2 separate regions of the Homo sapiens genome follow, and region 1 is linked to region 2. Evidence: promoter capture Hi-C in 16 types of primary human blood cells and fetal thymus (Javierre and others, 2016). All regions are on one chromosome and are shown on one strand. The core of a region is centred on a gene start or on the middle of the fragment in contact, and the rest is flanking DNA. Distances in the headings are between cores, read along the strand shown. Region 1 overlaps ITGAV (integrin subunit alpha V). Region 2 holds the start of ZC3H15 (zinc finger CCCH-type containing 15).

Evidence for each region. The method cuts DNA at HindIII sites, captures the fragments that hold promoters and counts their contacts. A CHiCAGO score of 5 or more calls a contact.
Region 1: a contact is called between a fragment that was not itself captured here and the fragment with the promoter of ZC3H15 in region 2, in 1 of 17 cell types (M2 macrophages). The highest score is 5.1, in M2 macrophages.

Annotation. Positions count from the first base shown.
Region 1 is chr2:186,678,245-186,685,062 of GRCh38, reverse strand. ITGAV (integrin subunit alpha V) reads right to left here. Exons shown (of 30, transcript NM_002210.5): 30 at 4,162-6,818. Among named protein-coding and RNA genes, the nearest start is that of FAM171B, 12 kb to the left of the region's middle. The HindIII fragment of the contact is 8,502 bases long and covers 1-6,818 here.
Region 2 is chr2:186,484,826-186,491,399 of GRCh38, reverse strand. It overlaps ZC3H15 (zinc finger CCCH-type containing 15), which reads right to left and starts at 5,140. Exons shown (of 10, transcript NM_018471.3): 1 at 4,943-5,140. The coding sequence starts at 5,017. It overlaps LOC105373785 (a long non-coding RNA gene), which reads left to right and starts at 5,400. Exons shown (of 2, transcript XR_001739147.3): 1 at 5,400-5,600. It also overlaps the pseudogene DPRXP1. RefSeq lists an enhancer at 5,031-5,510. The HindIII fragment of the contact is 12,604 bases long and covers 1-6,574 here.

The DNA of each region.
Region 1 (6,818 bases), core at 2,768-5,267, 190 kb before region 2:
CTGTTGTTTTCCTCTGGGCCCCTTATAGCCTCACTCAGTGCTGGGTTCAGCCAAGGATTTGAGGGAAATATTTCCCACCTCCCACCCTGTGACTGCTTCCTTTCCTGGATTTTTCTCCTCAATTTCTAGCCATAGTGGCAGTCTCATCATTCCAGAAAGAAAGACAGCTTTCTGTTGTATTCTATCCGTTCCATAGGGAGTAACCTCAGGGGTAAATGTAGCTGCCTTCTTTAACAGTTAAATCCCCTCCAATTTCTGCCTGCTTTCAGTAACTTCAATGTCTTCAAAGGATTGTTTTCCACCCTATTTTGTTAAGAATTTATCATTGTTATCTGATAAAAGCTATCCTGCCATTATTGAAATTGGAAACCCCTATTAAACTTTAAATGCCTATGATTCTGTTCTTGGTCACTAAAATTATTTATAATCTTTTTTTTAATCAAGCATGTCAAAGTATTATGATATCTATGATCAAGTTGCTTTGTTTACAAGAAAGTTTTTAATTAAAAAAAATTTTTTTTGTAGAGATGGGGGTCTCACTGTCTTGCCCAGACTGGTCTAGAACTCCTGGCCTCAAGCAAACCTCCTACCTTGGCCTCCCAAAATGTCAAGATTACAGACATGAGCCACTGTGCCCAGCTGGTTGCCTTTAGATTTAGCTTATGTACAAGCAACAGACTGAACAAATGCAAAGGGTATTTGGGGTATAACCTAGCCAAAGAGTGGTATGGTAAACTCAGCAGGTAATTCTGATCCATTCATGATTTCAGCAGGCTCTTCATCAGGAGTTACAAACTCAAATTCCTACAATGGCTAGGCAAATGAGTAATGAGAACTTAGTCTCGTGAAATAAACGGAAGTCTCTCTAGGATTTATGGTAACCCCAAAATTGCTTGACCATCTTAGTGCAGACCTTACTCAGTTCCAATGCTGTATCCAAGCAAGAACACAGGCTCCTATCCTCAAGAATACCGTGGCTCTTAGAATTCAGAATCTCTGTCTTTGGGGTATTTATAATACATTAATGGTGCCAACTAGTTCATTTATTTTTAAAATACCTTGAGGCCAAACAAAACAACATCAGGCCACTGTTTGCAACTTTGTGATTTTGCTCCTGATCCAAGATATTCCCTGGGATTGTTCTATCTCATCTCTTGATGCTAATCCTGACCCTCCTTCTCCCAATATGTTCTAGATCTGCTCTCCTCAAGTTTTCCTTCTTTCCTTATCTACATCATATCCTTTAAAATGTGTTTTGCCCCTTAATGTACAAAACTGCTCAAGAATTTTCCATCTGTAAAACAAACTTTCCTACTTTTGCTTTCACCTCAAACTACAGCCCGTTCTCTTCCTTTCTAAGCCTAGCCAAGCCTAATGCCTATCCACTGCTTGACCCACTGTAATCCGGGTTTAGTGCTTGACCACACCACTGAAATGGCTTTCTGTAAGGTCACGAATAACCCACTCTTCTCTTACTTTGTTTCTCTATGGTTACTTTGTTTCTCTATGGTCTTGCGTCACAGTCTCTCTTGACTTTTTTTTTTTTACTTCTATAGCCAAGCCTCCTGGATCCTGGCCATCCCATCCTCCTTTTAAATGTAAAAATTTACTGCACTGCCTTCTTCCTGTCTCCTTACTTTACACATTTCTCTTGAACAATCTCATCCATTAGCTTCTATTAATACCCATATTATTTCTCTGGCTTTGATCTTTCTCCTGAATACCAAGGCTTATGTTTACAAGAACCTGCTGGAAATTTCCATCTGGATATGCCATAAGTACCTCAAATGTAATGTACCTTTTCCTCTCCTAAACTCTCTGCTCTTCCCCAAATCTCTGCCCCTTTCCTATTTCCTGCCTCAGTTCTCAGTCCAGCCAATCACCCAACCCAGAAACCTATGGATTCTACATCATACATTATCCTAAATATGTCTCCTTCTTTCCATTCCCATTGTTACTGGCCTGGTTTATTTAAGCCCTTATCACCTCTTCTTGGCAGTAATATGAAAATATTGCCAGCCATCATTCTGTCTTCTAATATGTTAATATACTAATATACATAAGTACTTTGCATATATTTAATATTTCCAAAGATAACACTACATGATGAGGTAGCTATTACGATGTCCATCATATAGGATATAATAAAAAGGTATGGAGGGGCTAGGTGGTTTCTGCAAGGAAAGACACTACTGTAGAACACATTAAGAGAGAACATCCTGGGGACATAACAAAGCTCTACCACACGCTAGTGTGAGAGCTTTGATAATCATTCTCTGAGCTGATTTCAAATCAATAAAATGGGTATCAATATAGTATCTATAATATTAGCTATTATATAAATTATTCATAATAAATAGACATATCACCAAAGCAAAATACCAAAGCTACTTCTTAGAAATAAGTAGTATAATTTCTTTTTCTAAAACGCATACAGTTCTGTCACTTTTTGCCAACATGGCTGCCGGTGGTTGAATTTTATCGTATTTCAGGCCTGTTCAAGAATGTTTCTTCATATGGTTTGGCTGTGTCCCCACCCAAAATCTCATCTCAAATTGTAATTCCCATAATCCCTACAATCCCTACATGTCAAAGAAGAGACCAGATGGAGGTAACTTAATCATGGGGGCAGTTTCCCCCATGCTGTTCTATTGATAGTGAGTTCTCACGAGATCTGACGGTTTATAAGTGTTTGGTAGTTCCGCCTGCATTCATTTTTCATCATGCTGCCTTGTGAAGAAGGTGCCTTGTTTCCCCTTTGCCTTTAGCCATGATTATGTTTCCTGAGGCCTCCCCAGCCATGCTGAATTGTGAGTCAATTAAAACTCTTTCCTTTATAAATTACCCAGTCTCAGGCAGTTCTTTTATAGCAGTGTGAAACAGACTAATACAACTCTCTATAATGGCTTGCCTCATTAATGATTTATCACCATTATAAGGTTCGAAGGATGTTTAAAATTAATCTTGGAAAAGAGAATTCCACGGCTCAAAATTTTCTTCTTGGACCAGTCAAGTGAATGATGGAAGAGACTTACTGGATAAGCACTTAACATATGCGTTTGATAACCCCTTTTCTTGCATTTTCACAAAGTCCTCACAAATTTACCCTCTGTGGACCAAGATACTTCCACAGAGGGTAAATTTGTAAGTGACTGGGAAGAGCTTTGAACCCAAGTGGTTTCAACGGTTTTCAAAATGATTTCAGGAAGGGCATGGTGGCTCACACCTGTAATCCCAGCACTCTGGGGGGACAAGGCAGGCGATCACTTGAGCTCAGGAGTTTGAGACCAGCTTGGGCAACATGGCAAGACCCCATCTCAAAAAAATAAAATCCTTTCATATGTGTTATCTTATTTGATCCTAAAGAGCAACTAGTAAGTCAGGCAGGACAGAAAGGCTCTGCCCATTTTCTAATTCTCACACTCAAAATACTTCCATGTGTAGGTGCTGTACATTTTACATCTTAATTGGAGCCAAAATATCAAGTATGGTGGTCAGGATAGGGGTAGTTATGACTTGCTGGTCCAGGGGAAATATCACATCTAACTAAGCATATAGTGTTAGAAGTAAGGACAGTGGTTACTTTTGCAGGGCAGGGTGAGATATGATTAGAAAGAGACAGAAGGGGGCTTGTGGATGCTGGCAATACTCTATCTTATTTCCATAGGAATTTACGGTGGTGTATTATGCTACTTCAGTATAATTTCCCAAGCATCTCAACACTTAATTTTCTTCTTGGTACTTTTCATTTATAAAAATAGGTATTTTTATACTAGAATTGCATATGTATATTGCAACTGCATATATGCAATGACATATATACACTATAATTAAAAATTATAAAAGATGTAAATGTGCATTTTAAAAGGAATCTGATAATGTAAAAATAATAAAGGTTAGCATAATGAATTTAGAAATGTTTGTTTAGAAATAAAATAATTCTTATATTTCAGGCAAATACATATTTGCCTTTCTAAGGATGAATTTTAATGTGGTACATTTTGCTCTTTTTGTGTTTCTTTTCATCAAATAACTGACATTCAAGATTTGAAGTTTTACAGAAAGTTACCTCTGAGGTCATCCTTTTAGTGCATTATTGCTAGCTCATGTAATCAAAAAACAAAAACACGTCACAGAAAGGATAAACCCCATACACAAAAGTGGTACCATATGCTTATGTTTATTGTACAGTCACAAGTTACATGTTGTAAATCAAGCAGAACACTGTACCAGTTTTCACTAACTCAAATCAAGTTAGCAAATTACAAATTTTAGAACAGATTCATTTTCTGTCTCACCCAATGTGGGTGACCACAAAGATATTTACTTTCTATGTTATTAGGTAGCAAATTAATTTGATATACTACACAGCTTCCAAGTTACCTTAGGATATTTCAAAGTGTTTCAAAACTGGTAAAGAATAATTCATTTCCAGCCTGAAATACAATGCAGAATGGACCATTTAGGGGTAAATAACCTCACTTAATCACTCTTTCCTGCTAACAAAAATAATACAAATATTTGTTTATATTAGGCTTACTAAATTAATGACAACTTTGAAATTATCTAGATTTGGTTACATTGTTATATTGCACTTGAGAACAATGACAAAAAACATCAAAGATTCAGTACCTCTCCCAAGAAGTTCATTATATATCAGAAATTAAAATGAAATATAAGCATATATTGCATGCTGCATATTTCTATCGTTCAAACCAGCCAACCAACAAACTAAAAGGAATACTCTCCAAAACACTGAGTATTAAGTAATTTCATCTGCCTTTTTTGATCCTACAATCATTTTTCAAATTTTAGGTGTTTTTCTTTAAATTATTCATCAAACTACTACATATACAAGCTATCCAAGAATGCAAACAAGGTGACATTGAGATGGGTAGTGGCTGCACATAGGTATTCCAAGAACGACTCATTCTTCTCCACCAAGCTCATCATTACATTTTGCAACTTAGGAAGATCTGCCAACTTACAAATTCTGTTTGCCTTACAAAAATCGCTGATCTATTATATACAATACTTTTATCACACAAATCTCTCCCTTAGGGTCATGATTCACTATCAAAAATCTTTCACAGCCCTCTTAAGCCAGTAAAGTCTCTTTTATTAATACTTGAGTTTTCTTTATGGAAATGTAAGTGTTAATGAGAATTAACTATGAATAAGTAGTTTCATAACACAGGTAGAATGATGGCAATAATATTTTGACTAATTGTTTTACCTTTCAGATTCAGAATTACAGTGATAATCGTTAAGAGAAAAGAGAAACAGAAAAAATGACTCACATGTATTTTTCTCAAAATATCAATTCTGAAATAAATACCTATATAAAAATCAATATCAGTATCAATATTTCTTACCAATGTCAAATGTTTTTAATATCTTCTAGTTCATTCATGTTTTCTTAAAACTGAATCAGATCATAAAAATTTTACATTTCAAAATGGATTTTTATTCTCAATAAATCACAAATATGGTAGTATTTCAAATGTTTTAGAGATTTAAAGTTTTCATAGGGCAATTTTTTGATATTTAATCATGATAAAAAAAAATCCCACCATTTTCTTCAGAAAGTAGGCTTTCAAATTACTCTTCTCCATATTTTTGTAGATATATAAATGTTCATTTTTTGAAGGAAAATCTATGCTATTATACAAAACTATATTTCATAAAGGTAATTTAAGATATCATGTTAATTTCTAAATTACAGCATCTTTCAATCTCCAATACAAGATTACTTTCAAGATAGATGCCATAAAAGGAATAGATGGCACAAAAGCAAATTCTAACACTTTTGCCAAAGAGTGACTTTCTATCCAACATATTTTCAGAAATGACTGTTACTAGGTGGTAAAACTGTTAGGGTAAAATTTGTTATAGACTAACTTACTGATTGGTGGCAGGCAACACTTGGCCCTAGGATAAAAATATTTTTCTTAAAAAATTTTAAATTTATTGGTAATAAAAATACTTACTGCATATGATTAAGCTCTTTCAAGCTACTAATAAAAATCTATACTCCAAGACCCATTACTTTTGAAATTCACTAAAGCTAAAATAGAAGGTTTTGTCTAGAGTCCTACCTTGTATACCTCAACTAAATGTGCTCCTATTTTACGAATATATTCTCAAGATTAGCTCAGTCAACTTGTGCATGAAATTATGAGATATGGCAAGATAAATTTCAATCATTTTTAAAACACAGCAAAATAGTCAATTATTTAAGGGAAATATTTATCATTACCTAATGAGGACAGCAGTTAAAGAGCTATTAAACTCTCCATTTCTAATGTACAACATGATGTAATTGCACAAAAATAGGTATAACTGATCATCATCCCCAGGCCTTGAGGAACTGTGAATAAATCATATATTCCTCTAGAAGGTTCACCACTCTACAGAGCCATATAAAACTACAACTTGCCACCTATGTGGCTTTTATTAATAATCCTAGAAAAGTAATTTATACTAACGAACTTCAGAAAGGTTTAAAAGGTTTTCAGTAACTTGAACTGCTTATAAAAATACCTTTTAGAAGTTATTCTGACAGCCGAGACTGATTTTACACATTACCTTGCTTAAACAGAGGTAATATTCCTGTAACATCATGCTATTGCTAGAAGTAAATCAGTGAGTTGCCTTAAGAGTTTTTATTCCAAGCATTACTCATAAAGTTGGGGTAAGGGGTCCAGGTTCCTGTCAACTGTAAAGATTTCTCACTGATCTTGACCCATTCTCAGTAACAGTTTTGGAAATATAAGGAAAAGTACATGAATGGAGGAAAATAAATTAATACTAACTAA
Region 2 (6,574 bases), core at 3,891-6,390:
GGGTAATAATACATATCCCACTGAGAGAATCAAAGGAGCTAGTATATTTATCACTTGTAGTTGGCTTGTCTCTCTTCTCTCCTTCTCCCCAAAACACTGAGAACCTTGTCTGGGCCAGTAAATGTTAACTATTAAGTGACAGATGATATTTGAACCTAGGTATATTTGACTCCAAGCAAATTCCTTCTACAGTTTTTAATAAACTACTTCCCAGAGAAACCTCATTAAGTTATTGGGCTGGTTGGTGCGCAATAACCTTTCTAAATATCACACTGCAGATCTGAGATACCAATAGCACCTCTTGAAAACAGAATGATTTGCAATTTGGAGAAGTTCAAAAAGGCTTCTTCCTGAGTTTAGGACAGAGCCCTACCTAAAGATTAACCTGAATTACAAGGTAGAAAAAAAGGAGGTTACAGTCAACCCCAAACCACAGTTAAAATAAAACTAGGAGAATAATGGTCCTCATTGGATTAATAAGGTCCCAAAAGTTAACATGATAGTAAAGGAACTGCGTGTTTATGTGTGTTTCAGAAGACAACTTGGGACATGAATACAGAGGAGTCTCGAAAGAAAAGGATGACTTCCTGAGGCTCCAAGAGCCTTAACACTCAGTAAATTCCAGGCTTCACTTAAAACTTCCCTCCCATCCGTACGTAATCCCATTCCTTTTACGGGCCAGCCTCCACTGCTTAAATAAGATGTTTGGAAAAAGGGAAGCAGCGGAAGGGCAGGTCAACACTGAATAGTGCTCCAAGATAATGGAGTCTACCCTCTTGGGACATTCGGGTAGGCAGAAGCTGTCACGGTTTTCCCTCATTAGTTTTCTCCCAAATGCACTAATGTATTCTTGTTGTCCATCCATGCAATATATATTATGCAACTGGTTAATCCAGCTTCAAGTAATCAACATTTGATTTTGGCTATTGGTAGCTGTTCTACACTGGCAACCAATTTCTCTTGCTCCATCTTTCACGACACCTGGATCCTGTCTCTATAGGTCCCTATTACTATTTCCTTGCTGATACAAGTTCTTAGCTGGGTATCTTTTATTTGCTTGCCCTAAGTCCAAGATTATTTCCTTCTTTCCATATTCAAACTTTCTATTGCTCAATACTGACTCCATTTGTCACTAAATTTTAGTTGTAAGAAAGCAAATGGTATATGCCATTTCAGACTAATGTGTTAATTTCTAACAGAACCATAATCCTGTTTGACATATTCATTTCGGAAAGTATTAATACAAATGAATTCATAAAGTTTTGGGGCATTTGAAGAGGCAAATAAAAAAAATGGAGGCAATATTAAAAAATGGAGGCAATATTAAAAAATGGGCAGGAACTAAGCACTGTATAGACTGTGCAGATCAGTCTGATGTCCCCTAGTTTTTATTTATAATACACTATCAAAATAGGCAATAACAATAGCTGCCATTTACTGAATATATACACCATATGGCAGGCACTTTACATGTATTATCTCATTTAACTCACGGGAACTAGCTGCATTTTGCAGATGAGAATTGCATTCCAGCTAGATTTTGTAACTTGTCTAAAACTATAGAGCTAGTAATTTGAAACATGGGACTCAAACCCAGGTCTCTGACTCCAAAGCTAGTGTTCCTTTCATTAATTTATGCTATCTGATGTCTCTTTTACTTCCTTAGAGTTCCCAAAACCTGCATGTTGATTTTTCCACAGTGAAGGTCCATAGAGGTGGCAGCAGAACAGGTACAGAAGAGGAAAGAGGTAGGTAGGACAACCATTATTTTCAAGTCTATTGAAACGTGCTGCTTAAAAATACATGTTTTAGTTAACTATTAATTTTGAGCAATTTAGAATTTCAGGTCATACAGCTATAAAACCTCCCAAAGTTAACCAGATTCTGAAATAAGTATCAGTCTTTATATGTCAAAATAGACTATAAAAAAGTAGTATTTCCCCCTCCAAAATTATAACAGTCACAGAGATCAATTATCTTCTTGGAATAGTCACTGAGACGTGCTAGGCTTTTAGGGAAGTTTAAAAAAAAAGTTGCCTATATAATGAAGCAGACTATATCATTTCCTAACCAGGCTGAATAACAGAATAGTCTCTATAAATCTAATTTCACAAATGCTGTAACTTAACACTACAATTCAAAATATTGTTGTACCTCTCCAGTAGTAGCAAATATCAATGTTGCACATGAGTCTGACAAACTTTGTTGCAGTATTTTTTGAAAAAGCTCATCAGGTCCCTGGACCAGAACATAAAAGAACATCTAGATTACAAGATGTCAGGCTAGGAGGACCTTCTTAAAGGCAAGTGGACACATTTCAAAGGAAACAAACTATGATCACTGAGAAACAAATGGAATATTTGAACATCTTGTTCACTAAGAACCCATACCCAAACCTCAGTCTTCAGAAAGAAATGGCCTCAAAGACATACATCCAACGGTACTGCAGGTTAGGTTAAAGAATGATAGCACAAAACACAAGAAAGCAAAATGCAAGCATATTCAGCAAAAGCAAGAAGCTCAACAACTGCAATTAACTGAGGGTGTAGTCAAGACCAGTCCTTCCCAGAGAAATAGACACACCACCCAGATCCCCTAATGATGCCTATCCTGTAGCTCTAATGTATACAGATGATTGGACACTCTCATGCCAACTCAGCGTATGCCCCAAGGTTAAGGTCCCTACAGATGACTCCATTAGCCACAAAATAATCCATTCTGGCTGCCGAGATTTTAACAAACACCGCCTCTAACCCATTTTGGAATCCTAAGTTTGTTTTTCAAGCGTCAATTATAACGTCTTTTGGTTCCTCCAAGTAGAGAGAGACACTAAACACAAAAGGTGACATATTGTAATGGTTCCCATACAAGAGAATACTTTTCAGCAATAAGGAACATACTAGAAATATACACAACATGCATGGATCTCAAAAACACTGCATGGTGTGAAAGCAAGAAGAAGGACACAAAGGCTACCTACTGTATAATTTATATGAGTTCCTAGAGTGGTAAAAACTAATCTATCCTGTCAAAAAAATTAGTGGCTGCACGTGTGGAAAGAATTAAATAGAAAGAGGCACAAAACAAATTTAGTGGGGTGATAGAAATGTTTCAAGTCTTAATTAGGGTGGCAGCTACCTGGGTGAATAAATTCCTCAAAACACATAGAACTATACATCTAGAACCTGTACATTTTATTTTACATAAGTTATACCTCAACAAAAAATAAATTAAAAAAATAATATATATTAAATGTAGAAAACACAAAATCGGGCTTAATTTCACCACTTTGTTGTTGTTAATATTTTTAGTTAAAAAGTGCAGTTGTCTTATTTTGCATTTTTCTTTGGAGATACCTTCATTATTGAAACTAAAATTGCTTTCTCTTTAGCTAAAAAATAATTTCGTCACAAGATGACTAGAATCATAACATATGCATCATTTTAAAAGTTGATGGATACTATAAACAACTTTCACACATAATTCCTTAAAATAAGAATACTAGTCCTACTAATTAAAAATAAAACAATTAGATATAGAGAAAGCTCTACAATGCATGAAGTATAATTTAAATTGTCTAAATTATTACATAACATTTAATTTCAATGGGAGTTTTACTTCGTATCAGGGTCCAATCTCGAGGAAAACGACATCCCTAAAATGTCCTTGGTTTTCATAAAAGTGAATGCCATCCGATCAGCAACCCCTGAAATTTACCTAAGTGCCACGAATCCAGATTGTTCAAATAAGGTAATAGAAAACACAGATGTGAAGGTAATATTTTGTTTTTAAGTGTCTGGCTATAGTACTTCATGACAGTTTTAAACTGTACAAATTGGCAATAAGAATACCAGTTCTCCTCCAAAGTTGGAACCTGGCCAAGTATAGCAAAATTCTTAAGCATTTTCTTAAATCCAATGAGCAGACTTTACACCTTATGCGGTAAAATGGTCATGGCTTTTTCTAATTATATCCAAAGTACAAGAGGTCCTATTTAATTATGAGGAGGATTAATAGCAGAAATCGAGGGAAGAAATACCTCGTTGGGGTCTGTATGGTATGTTTACGTAATGTCAAATATGGTTCATCTTTTAAGGAAACTCAATTCAGTTGTTGGAAAACAAGTGCACAACATGTAAGAACGTCAATAGCGTTCCTTGGCCATTAAAGGGCTACAGGCTCAATGTGTTAAACGAATATATATACACACACATATATACACATATACACACACATAGATGTATACATATATACACGCGCACACACACACATATATCTCAAACTGGGTTACGGGACTTCACACAATTAGTGACACTGAAACCTAATCTCTTTTAAGGCGTTATCCTATTTAATCCACTTCAGAATGTAAGTACCAAGCTCTGCGTTCAAGACCCTGGGTTGTGACGGAAAGTCCTTCCATTCTTTATGGGACTTTAAACATTTCAGAGGTGGATCGAAAAAGCCACCAAGTCGTAATTTGTTGGTTCAAAAGAACTAACAGTACCATCCCTGGGTGACGGGTAAAGAAATAACGAACACAAAGACTCGTCATGAGTCGGTCTTCCAGAAAGACGCTGGCCCGAGACCGTTCAGCGTATTTCTTCACACATAACCTTGGAAAATCTCCTCAATTCTGAGAGGACTAGCGAAGGATAAAACCCTGTGCCAGTCCCGAGGGGTCATTTCGCACCCGGGTGCATGGGTGGGTGAACACGGGCGTGTGGGCGGAGAGGCAAAGCCCAGGTGCGGGGGCGCCAGCAGCGTCACTATAGTAATGAGAGAGCTAGCGTCATCAGGGGCTGGAGAAGGGGCAGTGGGCCACACAGGCCTAAGGGAGGAACACGTGGCCCGAGGAAGCGAGCCGGCTCCCAGGGAAGCCCGGAGCGGGGAAGTGGCTTTCCGGAGGGCTCGCGGCGTGAGTGGGGGAGGGGTGGGTACTCACTTCGATAATCTTCTCCTTCTTTTTTTGCTCCGCCTTTTTGCTGCCCCCGGCCTGAGCCTGTTTCTTGGGGGGCATTGCGGAGACAGATGGCACCGGCCAGACTTACGCGCAGCTGAATACCGTCAGGGGTTCTGGCCCTGCGGCAGGACGAGGAGGAAGACCGGGGCCTCACTCGCCGCACCGCACGGAAAGCGAGTCGCTCATTGGCCCCGCAAACGCGGCCTTTGCGACAGGTCGATGTCGCAGAGCATAGTGGGTAGCGAGGAGCGGCTCCCGGAAGCGGAGCTGCGCGTGCGCGCCCACTGCGTCCCACTAGGAGGGGGCAGGGACGGGACGTGGGAAAATGACTACGCGTCACTCGTGATGTCGCGCATCCGATAGGCCCTTTTCAGATGGCAAAAGGCCTGAGGGTGAATCTGGGCGAGCTGGTTGAGTCCATGCGTTTGTGCTTCCTCTCAGTCCACTTTCGCTTACGATGGGGCGACTCTTGTCCATCGTCACCTCACCGGGAAACTTTTCCTGCCGGGCCAGTTAATGGTCCCCTGTACCATCCCCATCCTGAGTGACTACTAAGCAGCCGCAGCGACTCGGGGTTGCTCCGTGACCACGTTACTCAGTTAACCTTCTTGTTCCCTGGAGAGGCGGAGCTGAATGGCCCGTGAGTGTCGCGTGCTTCAGATTCCTGCGAAGGATTATTTAAAAAATGGAAAAAGTTAACTTTCATTTGCAGGGTCCCTTTCATTTGAAGAGCATCTGAGATGGCGTCCCAGATAAGGAGGCACTTGAACTCCTTAGAAGTACTGTATTAAGTTATTTTGAGACTTTAGGAGAGTGCCTAGGTGATTCCTAAAAATTCCTTTATAACGTGAAAGTAACCAAACTTAGTTAGAACTTAGTTTAAGTGCTTGGTAGCTCCAGAAATTCCTTGGCACATTACACACACTATTTCATTTAGTTATCACAACGACACTTAGGTGGGAGTTGTTACTGTTTTCGTTTTATAGATGAAGCAGAGAAAGGAAGAAAGATGCCCAAAGTTATATTAAGGACAGAGCCAGCAATTGTAATCTTGGCAGTCCGGCTTCAGCCTATATGCCTATTACCTAACATTACAAACTTAGATCCTGTTTGAAAAGGTACTTGAATGATGAATGGGACCCATTGATATTTGTACAAACGAAAATACTATTTTTTAAAAATGTACAATGCTTAGCTGTTATTTTTTAAAATGATTATTGTTTAAACTATTTCTGTTAAGAAGCATTGTGGAACCAAGAATCATCTTTATAGATAAAAGTTTTTTTATCTTTTTCATTAATTTGAATAGGGAGAAAACGATAAGCCCCCCTACTTAGTCAAATTGATTATTTGCTTAGTAATTTTCTACGTAAGATAATGTCAAGGAACCCCAAGTATGTTTTGTGTGTGTATGTGTGTGTGTAGAAGAAATGTGATAGCTACTAAAAAGAATTGTGTCGAGAATGGCAGGTGTATGTTGACACACTTTTTTTCATTTGGGCTCATATTGGCAGGTTAATGGGCTCCCCCCCTTTTACATATTTTCATCTTTATTTTTTGTAATTGTCATAGTTCTTGTCAGAGGATGGAGGGATGCAGCCAGCCCCCTCTTTA